Linked DNA regions of Homo sapiens: regions 2, 3, 4 and 5 are each linked to region 1. Evidence: promoter capture Hi-C in human tissues and cell types (Jung and others, 2019). All regions are on one chromosome and are shown on one strand. Each heading gives the region's core, a stretch centred on a gene start or on the middle of the fragment in contact. The rest is flanking DNA. Distances are from core to core; before and after follow the strand shown. Region 1 holds the start of ADCY2 (adenylate cyclase 2). Region 2 overlaps ADCY2 (adenylate cyclase 2). Region 3 overlaps LINC02123 (long intergenic non-protein coding RNA 2123). Region 4 overlaps ADCY2 (adenylate cyclase 2). Region 5 overlaps LOC105374645 (a long non-coding RNA gene).

Region 1 (2,759 bases), core at 78-2,577:
AAAAAAAAAAAAAAAAAAACTCACTGGTGGATAATCAATGCCTCGCACAAAATCTGCACATGCATGTCACAGGCAGTGCAAAAGTTTGAACCACACACTCAGAGATCAGTAACAGGAAGTTATCGCCATCTACAGACTTCCCCTCACTTTTCAAGGGAGCGAGCCAAGGATTTCTGCTTGAAAAATATAAACTGGCAAAACTGACATCAGCTGTTGAGCTGCATTATACTCCTCGTGATGAAATCCACTTTAATAACCTGTCCAAAACCCTAAACACGTTACTTCTTTAGAAACGGGAAAGCAATCGTCCGTCCCAAACGCTTCTTAACTGTAGTCTCTGAGATGAAAGATTGATTCACAAGTCAACACCACATCACTTTCCGTCTATCGGGCTAAAGAGCTAAATGCATACAGATTTAAAGGCAAAGATGTATACTTAATTTTTCTTCTTCATTTTCCTTGTCATTAACCACTTTCCCAAGGCAGGCTTTCTGCAGAGTTGAATAACGCCCAATCCCAACTAAAATGCCAACTGTGGGGCCATGCCAGTGGAACCGGGCAGGAGACAGCGACTCGCCCAGGAAGCCCAGGGCTGAGTCGGGGAAGACCTATTCCAGCGCTGCGGGCAGCGGTGCCCGGCGGAAAGCGCAGAGTTTGCCAGCGGGTGCGCAAAGATGCAAAAAGCACACGCCCTGCCCGTCCACCTGGTGAACACCTCGGGAACTTTATTTTGGGAAGAGCCTTCCCAGGAAACTTTTCTCCCGCCCGCAGCCCTTGCCAGAGTCCACCGGGCCGCGGGCCAGCAGGAGAAGCAGGGAGCCGCGGGCCGAGGGGCTGCCGCGGGCCGAGGGGCTGCCGCGGGCCGAGGGGCAGCCCGGAGCGGGACGCGGCTCGGCTGGCCGGGCTCCTCTCAGGGCCGGGGAAGGCGCGGCGCTGGACCCGCGGGGAGGCCACTCACCAGCCCGAGCGCGAAGAAGACGGCGAGCAGGGCGAGGCAGGAGCCCATGACGATGAGCAGCAGGAAGACGATGAGCGGGTGCTGCTGGCTCATGCAGTAGTAGGACTCGTAGAGCCAGTCCCGGGACCGCGGCAGCCCGTCTCCGCCGCCCGCCGCCTCCTCGGAGCGGTCCCGCAGGTAGCGGCGGCGCCGCATCGCCTCCTGCCACATCGGGGCCGCTCACAGGGCGCCCGCCGTGCGCGCCCGGCCCGGGCAGCGCCGCTCGCCGCGGCCGCCCGCGTCCCACCCCCGCGCCGCCTCGGCCGGCCCGGCTGCCGGCACCCGGAGCTGCGCGCAGGGGCCTCCGGCGCGGGCGGAGCTCGGCGCCCCGGGCTGGGCGCGCTGACGCGCGGGCGGGGGCCGGGCGGCGGCCTCGGGGGCAGCTCCCGGCGCCGCCGCCGCCACCGCCACCGCGCGGGAGGGGGCGGGTTCCACGGGGCCCTCCGCCCGCCGCTCCCCGCCCCGCGCGCAGCCGGCCTCCGTGCAGGGGCGGTGTCGGCCCCCACCCGACGGCCCGGCTGCAGGCTGGGGACGGCGGGGGCTGTACGGTGGGGGGAGTGGCGAACTGAGGGGCTCCCGCTGCGCCCCGGCCCGGGGTCGTCCTCGCCCGCCGGCCTCCCACACTCAGCCACCAGGTCGTCCACCTCCTCTGCCCTATCCCGAGTGCAGCGTGGGTGGGGTGGGAGGGACGGCCCTCCCCGCTACGAAGTGAGAACACAGCCTAAGGGGTGGAGGGAGGGAGTCCTACCCCCACCACTCCCCCCGCCCCACCTGGCTCGGAGCACTGCGGGGCTCCTCAGCTCCTCTCCACTACCTCAAGGTCAGCGGGCAGGGACGCTGCCACCCTCCTGTTTCCTCCACCCCTTAGTGGGCTGCGGGGCCTGCTCCCACCCTCCCCCACAGTCACAGAGCGCAGCCGGGGTCAGAGGACCCGGGGGGTCCCTCCTTTAGTACGCGGGTCAGAGGACAGCGGGGTCTCCCTCCTTTTCACTCTTTTGGGGAGCTGGAGAGGATTTCCCACCCTTCCCGCCTCCCCGCGGTGGGCACCGGTTTGCCGTCCAGCCCTTCTTCCCCTCAGCGTAGCAGGGTTGAGGGCTCCCCCATCCTCTCCACCCTCTTGAGAGGGCCGGGGCTCCCTGCGAGGGCGGCAGGGCGCGGAAACGCCAGGGGACCTAACTGGAGACCGGCACCATGTGGAAGTGAAGCGGCAGTGACTGCACTGGGAGCCCCCGCCACGGCCTCGCGGGGGCAGCGTCCGTTGCGCCCTGCACGCTCAGCTTCAGTCACACTTTGGAGGTGCCGTATAAGCCTGTCATATCACAGGTTTACAGAGCTGCCCCGTGGCTGGTCGTGGTCCTCGCCGAGCCCCTCTGCTGAGCGGGGATGGCGGCAAAGGGGCGCCGGGGAGAGCGGCTGGGCGCGGGAGCGGGCGGGTCGGCCCTGGGAGTAGCTCCCTCCCTGTCACCTTGGGGGCCTGGACGCAGGAGGCGCTAGAGACCCGGCAGGAGCGTTGTGGGGGCGGATGTCACCAGGGACAGTGTCCCCTCCCGACACGCGTGGGAGCGGAGGCCGCTGGCCTTCGCCCTGGGGGCCGAAGGGGCTTCATTGCTTATCACCAAAGGAACCCACCCTTCTGGAAGTTTCCTCCTATTCGAGTGTGGTCCGGCCCAAAGAGCCCCCAAATCCCACCTCCTCCCCCAAAGCCTTACCCCAAGGAATCCAAGGCACAAGAGCCCTCCCTTCTCCTGCCACCAGCGAGCAT
Region 2 (2,759 bases), core at 132-2,631, 53 kb before region 1:
TTAGCCTTTGAACCTTTGAAGCCAAGCATTGACTTCTCTCTAGCTATGAAAGTCCTAGAGGACATCTTCTTATAACAGAAGGTTATTTTGTCTACTTTGAAAATCTGTCATTTAGTGTGGCCACCTTCATCAATGATCTTAGCTAGATCATTCAGATAACATGCATCAGCATTTGCTGCTTCACCTTCCACGTTTATGTTAAGGAAATGATGTCTTTCCTCAAATCTCATGAAGCCACCTCTGCTAGATTCCCACTTTTCTTTGGTAGCTTCCTCACCTTTCTCAGCCTTCATAGAATTGAAGAGAGTTAGGGCCTTTCTCTGGATTAGGCTTTGGCTTAAGGGAATGTTGTGACTGATTTGATCTTCCAGCCAGACCACTCAAACTTTCTCTATATCAGCAATAAGACTTGCTTTCTTGCCATTTGCGTGTTCACTAGAGTAGCATTTTTAATTACCTTCAAGAACGTTTCCTTTGGATTCACAACTGGGCTAACTGTTTACTGCAGGAGGTCTAGCTTTTGGCCTATCATGACTTAAGACATACCTTCCTCACTAAGCTTAATCATTTCTAGCTTTTGATTTAAAGTGAGAGACATGCAACTCTTCCTTGCATTGAACACTTAGAGGCTACTGTAGGGTTATTAATTGGCCTAATTTAAATATTGTCATGTCTCTGGGAATAAGGAGGCCTGAGAAGAGGGAGGGAGATGGAGAACAGCTGGTCAGTGGAGCAGTCAAAAGACACACAGCATGTATTAAGTTCACCGTCAAATGTGGCTGCGGTTCGTGGTGCCCCAAAACACTTAAAATAATATCAAAGATCATGGGTCACAGGTCACTATAGCAGATACCATAATAATGAAACTTTTCAAATACTGTGACAATGACTAAAATGGGACACAGTGACATAAGTGAGCACAGGTTGTTGGAAAAATGGCACCAACAGACTTTGTTGACACAGGGTTGCCAAAAACATTCAATTTGTAAAAAATTCAGTATCTGAGAAGTGCAATAGAACAAAGCACAATCACATGAGGTGTGCCTATACTGTATATGGAGTTGGTTGTTGCCAGTGTGGAAAATCAACTCCTTTTCTTTCCAGCTCCTATAGTGAGTCATTATGTATTACAATAGGGGAATACAGATATTCCATTTTATTTTTATGTATTTTTTGGCTATTCATATTTAGTAGCACAGCCTGAAAGTGAAGCTGGCACCTCTTGGTTGTTCTTGTTCTGTTTTAAACTAAAAAGTACCAGGCTGATAGAGTTCTGCATAGGAAAAGGTAAGGCAGAGGTGCTCTTTTGTTCACCCCAGTATCAAAAATAGTACAGAATACACTGAAAACACATTTGAAGTACTCATTTTAAGAAGAATCATGTTTTTGTTTCTCAGTCTATTTTGGGGGACAACATTTCTTAAAAGAAAAATTGGTTTTTCTGGATTGAATGAATTGATGGATTTGCTTCATGAGATTCTGAACTTGAGAAGATAGCAGTCATTAGAGAAATGCAAATCAAAACCACAGTGAGATACCATCTCACACCAGTCAGAATGGCGATTATCAGAAAGTCAAAAAACAACAGATGCTGGCAAGGTTGCAGAGGGAAAAAAACGCTTTTACACTGTTGTGGAAATGTCAATTAGTTCAACCATTGTGGAAGACAGTGTGGTGATTCCTCAGAGGTCTAGAAGCAGAAATACCATTTGACCCAGTAATTCCATTGCTGGGTATATACCCCAAAGGAATATAAATCATTCTATTATAAAGATACATACACACATATGTCCATTACAGCAGTATTCACAATAACAAAGACATGAAATCAATCAAAATGCCCATCAATGATAGACTGGATAAAGAAAATGTGGTACATATACACCATGGAATACTATGCAGCCACAGAAAGGAACAAGATCATGTCTTTTGCAGGGACATAGACGGAGCTAGAAGCCTTTATTCTCAGCAAACTCGGGAACAGAAAACCAAATACCACATGTTCTCACTTATAAGTGGGAGCTGAATGATGAGAACACATGGACACATGTGGGGGAACAACACACACGAGGACCTGTTGGAGGGTAGGGGAGGGAGAGCAACAGGAAGAACAGCTAATGGATGCTGGGCTTAAAACCTAGGTGATGGGAAGATCTGTGCAGCAAACTGCCATGGCACACGCTCACCTGTGTAACAAACCTGCACATCCTGCACATGTACCCCAGAACTTAAAAGTTGATGAAAAAAAAAAATAATGAATGAATCTGATCAACACCAACACACCTACAGCTGTTACAGGCCTTACATAAAATAAGTCAGAGCCATCTGCTACACAGAGAGAGACTCAGGGGAGAATCTTTTTGCACCAGAAACTCTGAGCACGAGGGAAAAGGACAGACAGCACCTGACCTGGGTCTGGCACACGACATTCTTCAGAGACCCTTCTGCATCTTTAATGTATTCTCCTGATAACTCCTTTGAGACAAGTAGGACAGGGTACTTAGCTCTTCATATTGAAGGAGCTCCAGAGCTGCAGCTGAGGGAAGCAATAACCAGAAAGACCCCATCCCTACCTCAGGGTCTTGTGGGATTAGAAGAAGCCAGAGTTCCAGGTGTCCCCAGACAGCACACAGGGTTTGCACACAAGAGGGCCTGTTGTAAGCAGAGCAACTTCAGAGGGGTGCTTGTGCCAAGATATTTGGGAGGCCTCTTCAAGGGACACCCTCTGGTCACCGTGTCTGTGGAAGTCTTGGCCAAGC
Region 3 (2,759 bases), core at 102-2,601, 50 kb after region 1:
GTTCAACAACTCTGAGAATAAATGGTCTTTTTTAAAAAATTGGTGTCAAACCTACTGTACTGGGTTGATGTGAAATTGAAATTGAAATAAGTTGTATATAAAATGTCTGGCACATAGTAGTGATCAATAAATATTAATCCCTTCCCCAGACCAATGCTGTATTTCCATTTCTGGGGCACATGCCACATTGTCTAAATCAATGTTTTATTCACTCATACATCAAAGATAATGGAAACACTTATATTTTAGAAAGAACTTACTGTACATTTTATATTCTTTTTGGTAAATTGAATAAACACTCTTCAGAGATATATAAACCTAGATTTCCTGATAGACTTTGCATTAGAACATTGGTGGAAGAGAATGCACCAGAAAATCTCCTCTTTAGGTGCCCACTTCTGAGCTTTAGTCCTCCAACCCCAGAGGCCTAGTTACTCAGCCCAGAGTTCAGTGGGGCCGTGGGAGAAGTGGATGAGCTAGTTCCCTAAAGCACAGGCATGGGGGAGGCATGTCTCTGTCATACTCAATCATCCTAGCACGGGTGTGAGGGACATGTGAAAACGGGAATATAGATGACGCGAAGGTGCAACTGGGCTCCGTTTGGAGTCTTACCCAGTTCATAACTCAATTATCTCTAAGGAATATGCAGAAAAATGTGTTTATTTATTTATTTTATTTTTATTTATTTATTTTTTGAGACAGAGTCTTGCTCTGTCACCCAGGCTGAAGAGCAGTGGCACGACATCAGCTCACTGCAACCTCCACCTCTTGGGTTCAAGCAATTCTCCTGCCTCAGCCTCCAGAGTAGCTAGGATTACAGGCGCCCGCAACAACACCTGGCTAATTTTTTTGTATTTTTAGTAGAGACGGGGTTTCATTATGTTGGCCAGGCTGGTCTTAAACTCCTGACCTCAAGTGATCTGCCTGCCTTGGCCTCCCAAAGTACTGGGATTACAGGCGTGAGCCACTGTGCCTGACCAGAAAAAAAAAAAAGTGTTTAGAAGAATAGATATTTGAAAAAACAAAACTAGTAATTTGCGAAACATCTAAATAATAATAATAATGTCAACCCTGTTTTGACTGCTCGTTACATGCCAGACACTGTTCTAAGCATTTTATATGTATTCACTCACACAATCAGCCCAACAATCCAATGAAACAGGTACTATCATCATCCCCATTATAGGGATTAGCAAAGTAAGGCACATGGGACATTCAGTGAATTGTTCAAGATCTGAAGCCAAGTGGCACAGCAAGTATTTGAATCCATGGTACACCAGGTTCTGAGCCTGGGCTCCTGACTGTTAATTTGTTTCATTGATTAACATCCTAGGGATTGTTTGTACAATTTTTTGCCCGAAGAAAAGCCCTTCACTAATTCCCAAGTTTAAGTTCATAGATTTGTTTAATCATTACTGGTGCAGGGTATTGGGTAACTGGAGTAGTTTCAGCAAAAAGCAATTATGACTTCATTTGAAATCCAAGTAGATTAGGCATGGTTGATTTTATTTTCAATGGAAAAACCTTTCAGTTGGGTTTATTGGTCATTGTTTTTCAGTGATTTGTTTGCCATTGACATTAGTCGTGTTGTGTAACAAAGAAGTGTCCATTAACTTTGATTAATTGTCTCTTACGCCGAAAGTCCTAACCACGCAGTGCTCCACTGATACCACTTGAAGGGCAGAAGCGGAGGGGTGGGCTTTGGGATTGAGAAGAGCCTTTGGATGCTCACTTAACTGTAATTTCAGAAGCACAGACAAGCAACAAGATGACAACTATAATAAAAACAAAATAATACAAATAATATCAGTGGCAGCCTTTACCCAGCAGTGGCTGTGCCCAGCCTGTTGCGTGTCCTGAGATGTGGGAACTCATCTAAGCCTCACCCTAGGAGGAAGGTCCAATTCATCCTCCCATCTTACAGAACTCTAAAAGTTATCCCAACTTTACTCAAAGCAAAATCCTCATGGCCATATGGCTTTGATACAGTCCTGGACACCACCATTTCTGGTGGCAAATTCACAGCAAAGTAATGTCCCTGAACTTCAGCTTCCCATACCCTCCTCAATTCTGCAAATGGCAATACCCAGAGCTGCTGATGTGTTTCATGAAAGAACTCTAGGGAAGTAGGGAAGTGCTCAAAGGATTTCTGCCACAAGATGGTCAATAAATGGAAGGCATTATTATTGCTATCTGGAATACCCTAAAAAATGATCAAGCTGAGTCCGGGCGCGGTGGCTCATGCCTGTAATCCCAGCACTTTGGGAGGCCGAGGCGGGCGGATCACGAGGTCAGGAGATGGAGACCATTCTGGCTAACACGGTGAAACCCCGTCTCTACTAAAAATACAAAAAATTAGCCGGGCCTGGTGATGAGCACCTCTCGTCCCAGCTACTTGGGAGGCTGAGGCAAGAGAGGGGCATGAACCCAGGAGGCAGAGCTTGCAGTGAGCCAAGACTGCCCCACTGCACTCCAGCCTGGGCAACAGAGCAAGTCTCCGTCTCAAAAAAAAAAAAAAAAAATGATCAAGCTAAGATTGTTATTTAAAGTTTACCTAAAACCCAATTTTTCCTCTGAGCAGCTTCTGATAATGGTGCCAGGAAGGGGCTCTTGGTGTTAATCCCCTGGGACTGCTGTGACAACGGGTCACAGTCTGGGTGGCTCATCACAACAGAAATTCATTCCCTCCCAGTCTGGAGGTGAAAAGTCAGAAATCAAGGCATCAGCAAGGCATGCTCTCCACCGAGGCTCTAGGGGAG
Region 4 (2,759 bases), core at 124-2,623, 33 kb before region 1:
TCCTATTTTTGAGTTTATATTAAATGGTTTTTTTCCATTTCTAACAGATGATTCCAATATGTAAGACTACAAAAGCCTTTTTGGCATCTGCTGAAATGGTGACACACAGTGCACCTGTTGAAATTATCCTTAAGGTGGTGAATCACGAAAATTGATTTTAAAATATTAAACCAACTCTGCATTCTTGAGATAAACTACATTTGTTCATGTTATCCTTTATATATATACACTATATATATAGTATATCAATATACTATATATATATAGTATATATATATACATACACACATGAACATATATATGTGTTACTAGATTAAATGTGGTAATCACTTGATAAATTTTGATTTGAATTTTGGTTAGAATGTTTGTGTCCATGTTCCTGAAAGATACTGGTCTGTAGTTTTCTTTCTTTGGAATGTCTTTGCTTTTATCAGAGTAATGGTGGCCCCATGACATGAGTTGGGAAATGCTTCCTGTTCTATTTTGTGGATGAATTTCTGTAGAATTGAGATTACTTATTCTTTAAACTTTGGTATAATTCACCAGGGAAGCCATTTGGACCTGGAGCATTCTTTATAGGAAGATATTTAGCTACCTATTCAAATTATTTCTACATATAGAGCTATTTCATTTATCTATTTCTTCTTGAATGAGTTTTACTGGTTCGCTTTTCAATAAATTTGCCCATTTTATCTATATTGTGAAATTTAATGGAAAGAGTTGCTCATAATATTTCCTTATTAAACTTTTAAGGTCTGTAGAACCTATAACAATAACCCCTTTCATATTCCTAATATCAATCATTTTATCTTCTATCTTTATTCCCAATCAGTCTTGCTAGAGTTTCACCAATTTTACTAACCTTCCCAAAGAACCAGTTGGGATTTCACTGATTATTGTTTTCCTGCTTCCAATTTTGTTGTTTTCTGTTCCTTTTAATTTGTCTTCCATTTTCTTAAAGTGAAAGTTCAAGTTACTGATTTCAGTCCTTTCTTCTTTTCAGCATAAACATTTAATGTTATCACTTTCCTGCTAAGCACTGCCTTAGGTGCATTCCACAGATCGTGATACAGCATGTTTTCATTTCATTGAATTCAAGATACTTTCTAATTTCCCCTTAATTTCTTCTTGGACTCATGGGTTATTTAGAACTGTGTTGGTTAACTTCCAATTATTTATTAATTTTTCAGACTTTTTAATGTTATTGATTTGTAATTTAAGTCCATTATGCCCAAAGCACATACTTTGTATCATAACAACCCTTTTAAACTCAGCAACACTTTGTTGCCCAGAATATGGTCTATCTTAGTAAATAAATGTTCCACATGCATTTCAAAGAAAACACACTCTTCATTGTTGGGACGTGTTCTATAAAGATGAATTAGGTCAACTTGTTTAATGGGACTTTTCAAATCTCCTATATCCTTATTCATTTTCTTTCTTCTTGTCTCAGCAGTTATTGAGAAATGGGTACTAAAATCTCTGAGTAAACATGGATTTTTACATCATGTATTCTGAATTTCTCTTACTAGGGGCACAGGTATTTGAAACTGTTAGCTCCTCCTGAGGTACTAATTCCTTTATCAGTAGGCAATGTCCCCTTCTCACTGTACCTGCTCTTTCAGGGCCTGTGCGAGTACCAGAAATTATTTCACCTGCTCTTTCCTGGAGCTTTTTTCTTTGGCCTCAGTAGATTGCTCTTAGGCATGTGCCTGTCAGTACTCTGCTGATGAATTGGTGGGACCCTCTACAAATCACTAGAGCTCTCTCTCTCTCTCTCTCTCTCTGTGCAACTCTTCTCATACCTCTTGGTATTCCATCCTGAGAATTTCAGCACCTTTGTCTTCCCAAACTCAGAATTCTGTTTCCTCAACTCAGTGCAATTAGCTGGGCTCTGTTTGGGTCCCCTCCCTGTGTCACAGCCCACGGACTCTCTCCAGAAAGGAAACTGGAGCAATCCTAGAGTTCACTTTTTTTGTTCCCCTTCTTATCAGGGTCAATTTCCCATAGTATCCTTTGACCCATGTCTTAAAGCCATTGTTTCAAGTATTTTGTCCTGTTTTTTAGCTGTTCAAGGTGGGGAGGTAAATCAGGACTCAATTTCTGCATCATGTTTGAACATGGACATACAAAACACTATCTACTTGGGAATGAAATTATCCCCTCACTGGTTTTAACAGAATACTTATTAATCTCAGCTTTGAATTTATTGGACAATAAAATTATGAAACCCAGCTTATTGAAAAATAATTCAATTTCACATAATTTATACCAGTACACAGTGTGGTATGTATTAATGGAAACTTGGGAACTAAAGCTTTTCTTTAAAATGGAAGCTGAACTTAAGCAAATGAAAATGGTTATAAATCATATATCATGGAGTGAAAAGCCATTTATTTAGCAGAAAAAACTCTATCTTTGGCTTAAGATAGTTTTTGGTGTTTTTCCCCCTAACAAAGATAAGCAGCCACTTAAAAATTATGCCTTGTTTCCTCTACTTTTCTCATTGATTCTCTCTGAGGTAGGCAGCATTCCCTGTGTTTCAGATGGCTGGAGATTCCCTCCTGCTAGTATGAATTTTTTGCCTGAAGCAAAGTCATGATATAGAAAATGTAAGTGGTCCTCAGATCTCCATCAACCTGCTACCAGCAGTTCAAACCTAAAACCTGAAAAGCTGAAATCACCTTTCAGCTCCCCGACCCCTGCCCTCTGCATGATAGCAGACAGGCCCAGCTCCCTGGGGTGTGGCCTGTGCAGCC
Region 5 (2,759 bases), core at 127-2,626, 33 kb after region 1:
TTGTCCAGGAGGAAATTCCTTGTGAGGGAGGTATGTCACTTTTTTATCTTAGTAGCTACCTTTTTTTAGGAATAGAATGGGAGGCAGGTTTGCCCTAAGCAATTCCCTGCTTGATTTTTCCCTTTCCCTTAGTGATTTGGGAGTCCCAAAATTTATTTTCCTTTCACAGATATTCCAAAAAAGGAGATATAAACATGACCATAAAAGACATGAAAAGATGTTTAACCCCATTAGTCATCGTGGAAATGCAAATGAAAACCACCATACAGACACTAGAGTGGTTTAAATTTGAATGACTTCCAACACCAAATGCCAGACAGGACATAGAGCAACTGGATGTCTCATGCTCACAGGTAGGAATGCAAAATGGTGTAACTTCTGTAGAAAACTAATTGGTAGTTTCTTATAAAATTAAATGTGCACCTACCTTATTTATGATCCAGCAATTTAACTCTAAGGTATTTCTCTAGCAGAAATGAAACCATATGCCTACACAAACTACTTGTACACTAGTGTTTATTGCAGCTTTATTTATAATAGCAAGAATGTTAAACAATCCAAAAATCCATCAACAGGAGAATAAATAAACAAATTGTGATATATTCATACTATGGAATAATAGCAGTAGAAAGAAATGAACTAGTGGTGCACACAACATGGATGAATACCAGAAATACTATGCTGAGTGAAAGCAGGCAGACTTAGATATGATATCTAGACATTTCCTTTTTTATGAAGCTCCAGAACATGCAGAGCTAATCTATGGGAACATAGTTCAGCATGGTGGTCTTTCTAGGTATGCGAAAGAGAATATATGCCAATAAACATGAAAGACTTTCTAGGTTGAAGGCAGTGCTATATGTCTTTACTGGATGTTGTTTCCACAGGTACATACATTTTTAAAAAATATCACAGTATGCACTTAAGATCTGCACATTTTACTATATGTAATTATACCTCAATAAAAATTTTTTAAAAACCCTAAGTATCACAACTGTTATGAATATTTTCTTGGTTTATTAAATGAGGCATTCAATCAAATATGCATTTTGATTGCATTATGAATATGAAACATGCTGATTACCAATTCATATTCATTTGGAAACCTACAGGCAGAAGGGAAAACTACTGTGTGTGACAGGAAGATGGACTTACCCAACCTTCAGCATTCTCAATCTCTTGTCTATTAACATGGTAATTGCCTTTAATGACTTTGTTCTCCTCGGTGTAATCAGACAGGAAACTTTAGAGGGAAAATGCATAAATTATTCTAACCCCTGCCAGGGAAAGAATCCAGACTTTAATCAACTTCTGTGCATTTTATTCTTCATATTAAAAAAGCTTTCTTTACATTTGGACTCAATCAACAAGCTCTCTTGTCTAGAACAATCCTTGTTTTGTGCTCCCGTCAGTAGGACTATGTCCCCAATGTAGAAGACAAATGGCCTTCTTGTTCAAAAAGGGTCATCTATAGTACTGAAAGTTATGCAAACTCATTTGGTTCTCTCTGCCCTTTTCAAATAGCATCTCATAACAGTATCAACACTATTGATGGTGCTAATTTTATATAATTCTTTTCAGTGTTTGAAACATTATGCATTCAAAGCAAACATCTGGGAGGAAGATGGGAGAAGCCTTCTTGCCCCTGTTCTACAGAAGTAATTGAAGTTCATGACATTCAAGCTCATTCACCAGTAAATGAATTTGGGTCATGCTTTATGTCTGTTGTAAATACAGTGAAAATTTGCCTCTGTTCCTGAAGCATTTCTAAATTGAACTTCCCTCACTTTTTGAAAAACCTATACAACCCACACTCTCAGTATTTGAGACACCAAGGAGTTGCTGCATTTAAGTTCTCTATCTAACACAGTAATCCTGGCCAGGAATTGGATGGGAGACTTTCAGGTGGAATCCACCATGGAGCCAAGGAGGATAGAGAACAATGCATGATTTTTGACAGGTCTTGTTTGCAGTCTGGCCCACAAGCTGTGTCACAGTGAAGTAGGTGGTAAAACAAATGAACACCCTTCCTTTTCATTCTGAAACAGGCTGCCTCTTCTATTGATTTGCATTTCAGCACTTATTGGGTTAAGGAAACACTAAACATAAATATTCTATTTGATTCTACACCACATTATTCTAAATGTCGATTGTCGAAGAAACATCCTATACAGGGTATGTTTCCTGTCCAAGTATTTCCAGGGGAACTCAGTGTACACCTATGTTACAGGGAAAAAAATAACTAAGATAGCACACTGTGTGGTGTAAAGAACTGTCACCAGTGTAGAAAACAAGTTTCAGCCTTGGAAAGTTTGGGGTCAGGAATGAGTCCAGGTATAAAGCCTAACACAAGGACAGCCTTAGATCAATAACCTAGACAAATAATGTCTTTAAACATCAGCTTCCTCATCTGCAAAATGAAGATAATGATATAGTCCTATGTATAACCCAGGGGGGGACCATCTACTGAATTGGAGAATAAACAGAAAGCATTTTTTGAAGCTTAGAGTTACGTGCAGCAAAAATTGTGGTTTCCATGGCTTTTTGCTGTTGTTTCTCAGCCTTTCTGAAGTGCTGATGGGTCTGGACTTCTTCTGGACTCATCTCTTGGGTTATATTCATCCTTTTAAATACCACAGGCTTCTTCTAATAAACATTTGGTTAGAGGGCCATTGCTGACTTTTTGGGGGTTTTTTAGGTGCCTTTATTTTACACCATCTTTTTGAATGGTCAATTTGTATACATGAATGCCCACCCTG

What was found. Contacts are between HindIII fragments. The study calls those that stand out against the background at their distance.
Region 2: a fragment that was not itself captured here is called in contact with the fragment with the promoter of ADCY2 in region 1 in 4 of the 25 tissues and cell types used here (H1 embryonic stem cells, dorsolateral prefrontal cortex, mesendoderm cells and 1 more).
Region 3: a fragment that was not itself captured here is called in contact with the fragment with the promoter of ADCY2 in region 1 in 1 of the 25 tissues and cell types used here (mesendoderm cells).
Region 4: a fragment that was not itself captured here is called in contact with the fragment with the promoter of ADCY2 in region 1 in 3 of the 25 tissues and cell types used here (dorsolateral prefrontal cortex, hippocampus and pancreas).
Region 5: a fragment that was not itself captured here is called in contact with the fragment with the promoter of ADCY2 in region 1 in 2 of the 25 tissues and cell types used here (spleen and thymus).

Annotation. Positions count from the first base shown.
Region 1 is chr5:7,394,706-7,397,464 of GRCh38, reverse strand. ADCY2 (adenylate cyclase 2) reads right to left here and starts at 1,327. Exons shown (of 25, transcript NM_020546.3): 1 at 959-1,327. The coding sequence starts at 1,168. It overlaps LOC107986403 (a long non-coding RNA gene), which reads left to right and starts at 1,516. Exons shown (of 2, transcript XR_001742597.2): 1 at 1,516-2,759. RefSeq lists enhancers at 1,246-2,011, 2,012-2,759. The HindIII fragment of the contact is 8,449 bases long and covers 1-2,759 here.
Region 2 is chr5:7,447,966-7,450,724 of GRCh38, reverse strand. The region is part of intron 2 of ADCY2 (adenylate cyclase 2); the gene reads right to left. Among named protein-coding and RNA genes, the nearest start is that of ADCY2, 53 kb to the right of the region's middle. The HindIII fragment of the contact is 5,071 bases long and covers 1-2,759 here.
Region 3 is chr5:7,344,649-7,347,407 of GRCh38, reverse strand. It overlaps LINC02123 (long intergenic non-protein coding RNA 2123), which reads left to right. Exons shown (of 2, transcript NR_134277.1): 2 at 1-422. Among named protein-coding and RNA genes, the nearest start is that of LINC02123, 1.9 kb to the left of the region's middle. The HindIII fragment of the contact is 3,992 bases long and covers 1-2,759 here.
Region 4 is chr5:7,428,043-7,430,801 of GRCh38, reverse strand. All of the region lies in intron 2 of ADCY2 (adenylate cyclase 2), which reads right to left. It overlaps LOC105374646 (a long non-coding RNA gene), which reads right to left. Exons shown (of 2, transcript XR_925763.3): 2 at 1,516-2,759. Among named protein-coding and RNA genes, the nearest start is that of ADCY2, 33 kb to the right of the region's middle. The HindIII fragment of the contact is 3,476 bases long and covers 1-2,759 here.
Region 5 is chr5:7,361,938-7,364,696 of GRCh38, reverse strand. It overlaps LOC105374645 (a long non-coding RNA gene), which reads left to right. Exons shown (of 7, transcript NR_188260.1): 5 at 170-353; 6 at 1,113-1,194; 7 at 1,582-1,755. Among named protein-coding and RNA genes, the nearest start is that of LINC02142, 9.8 kb to the left of the region's middle. The HindIII fragment of the contact is 4,428 bases long and covers 1-2,759 here.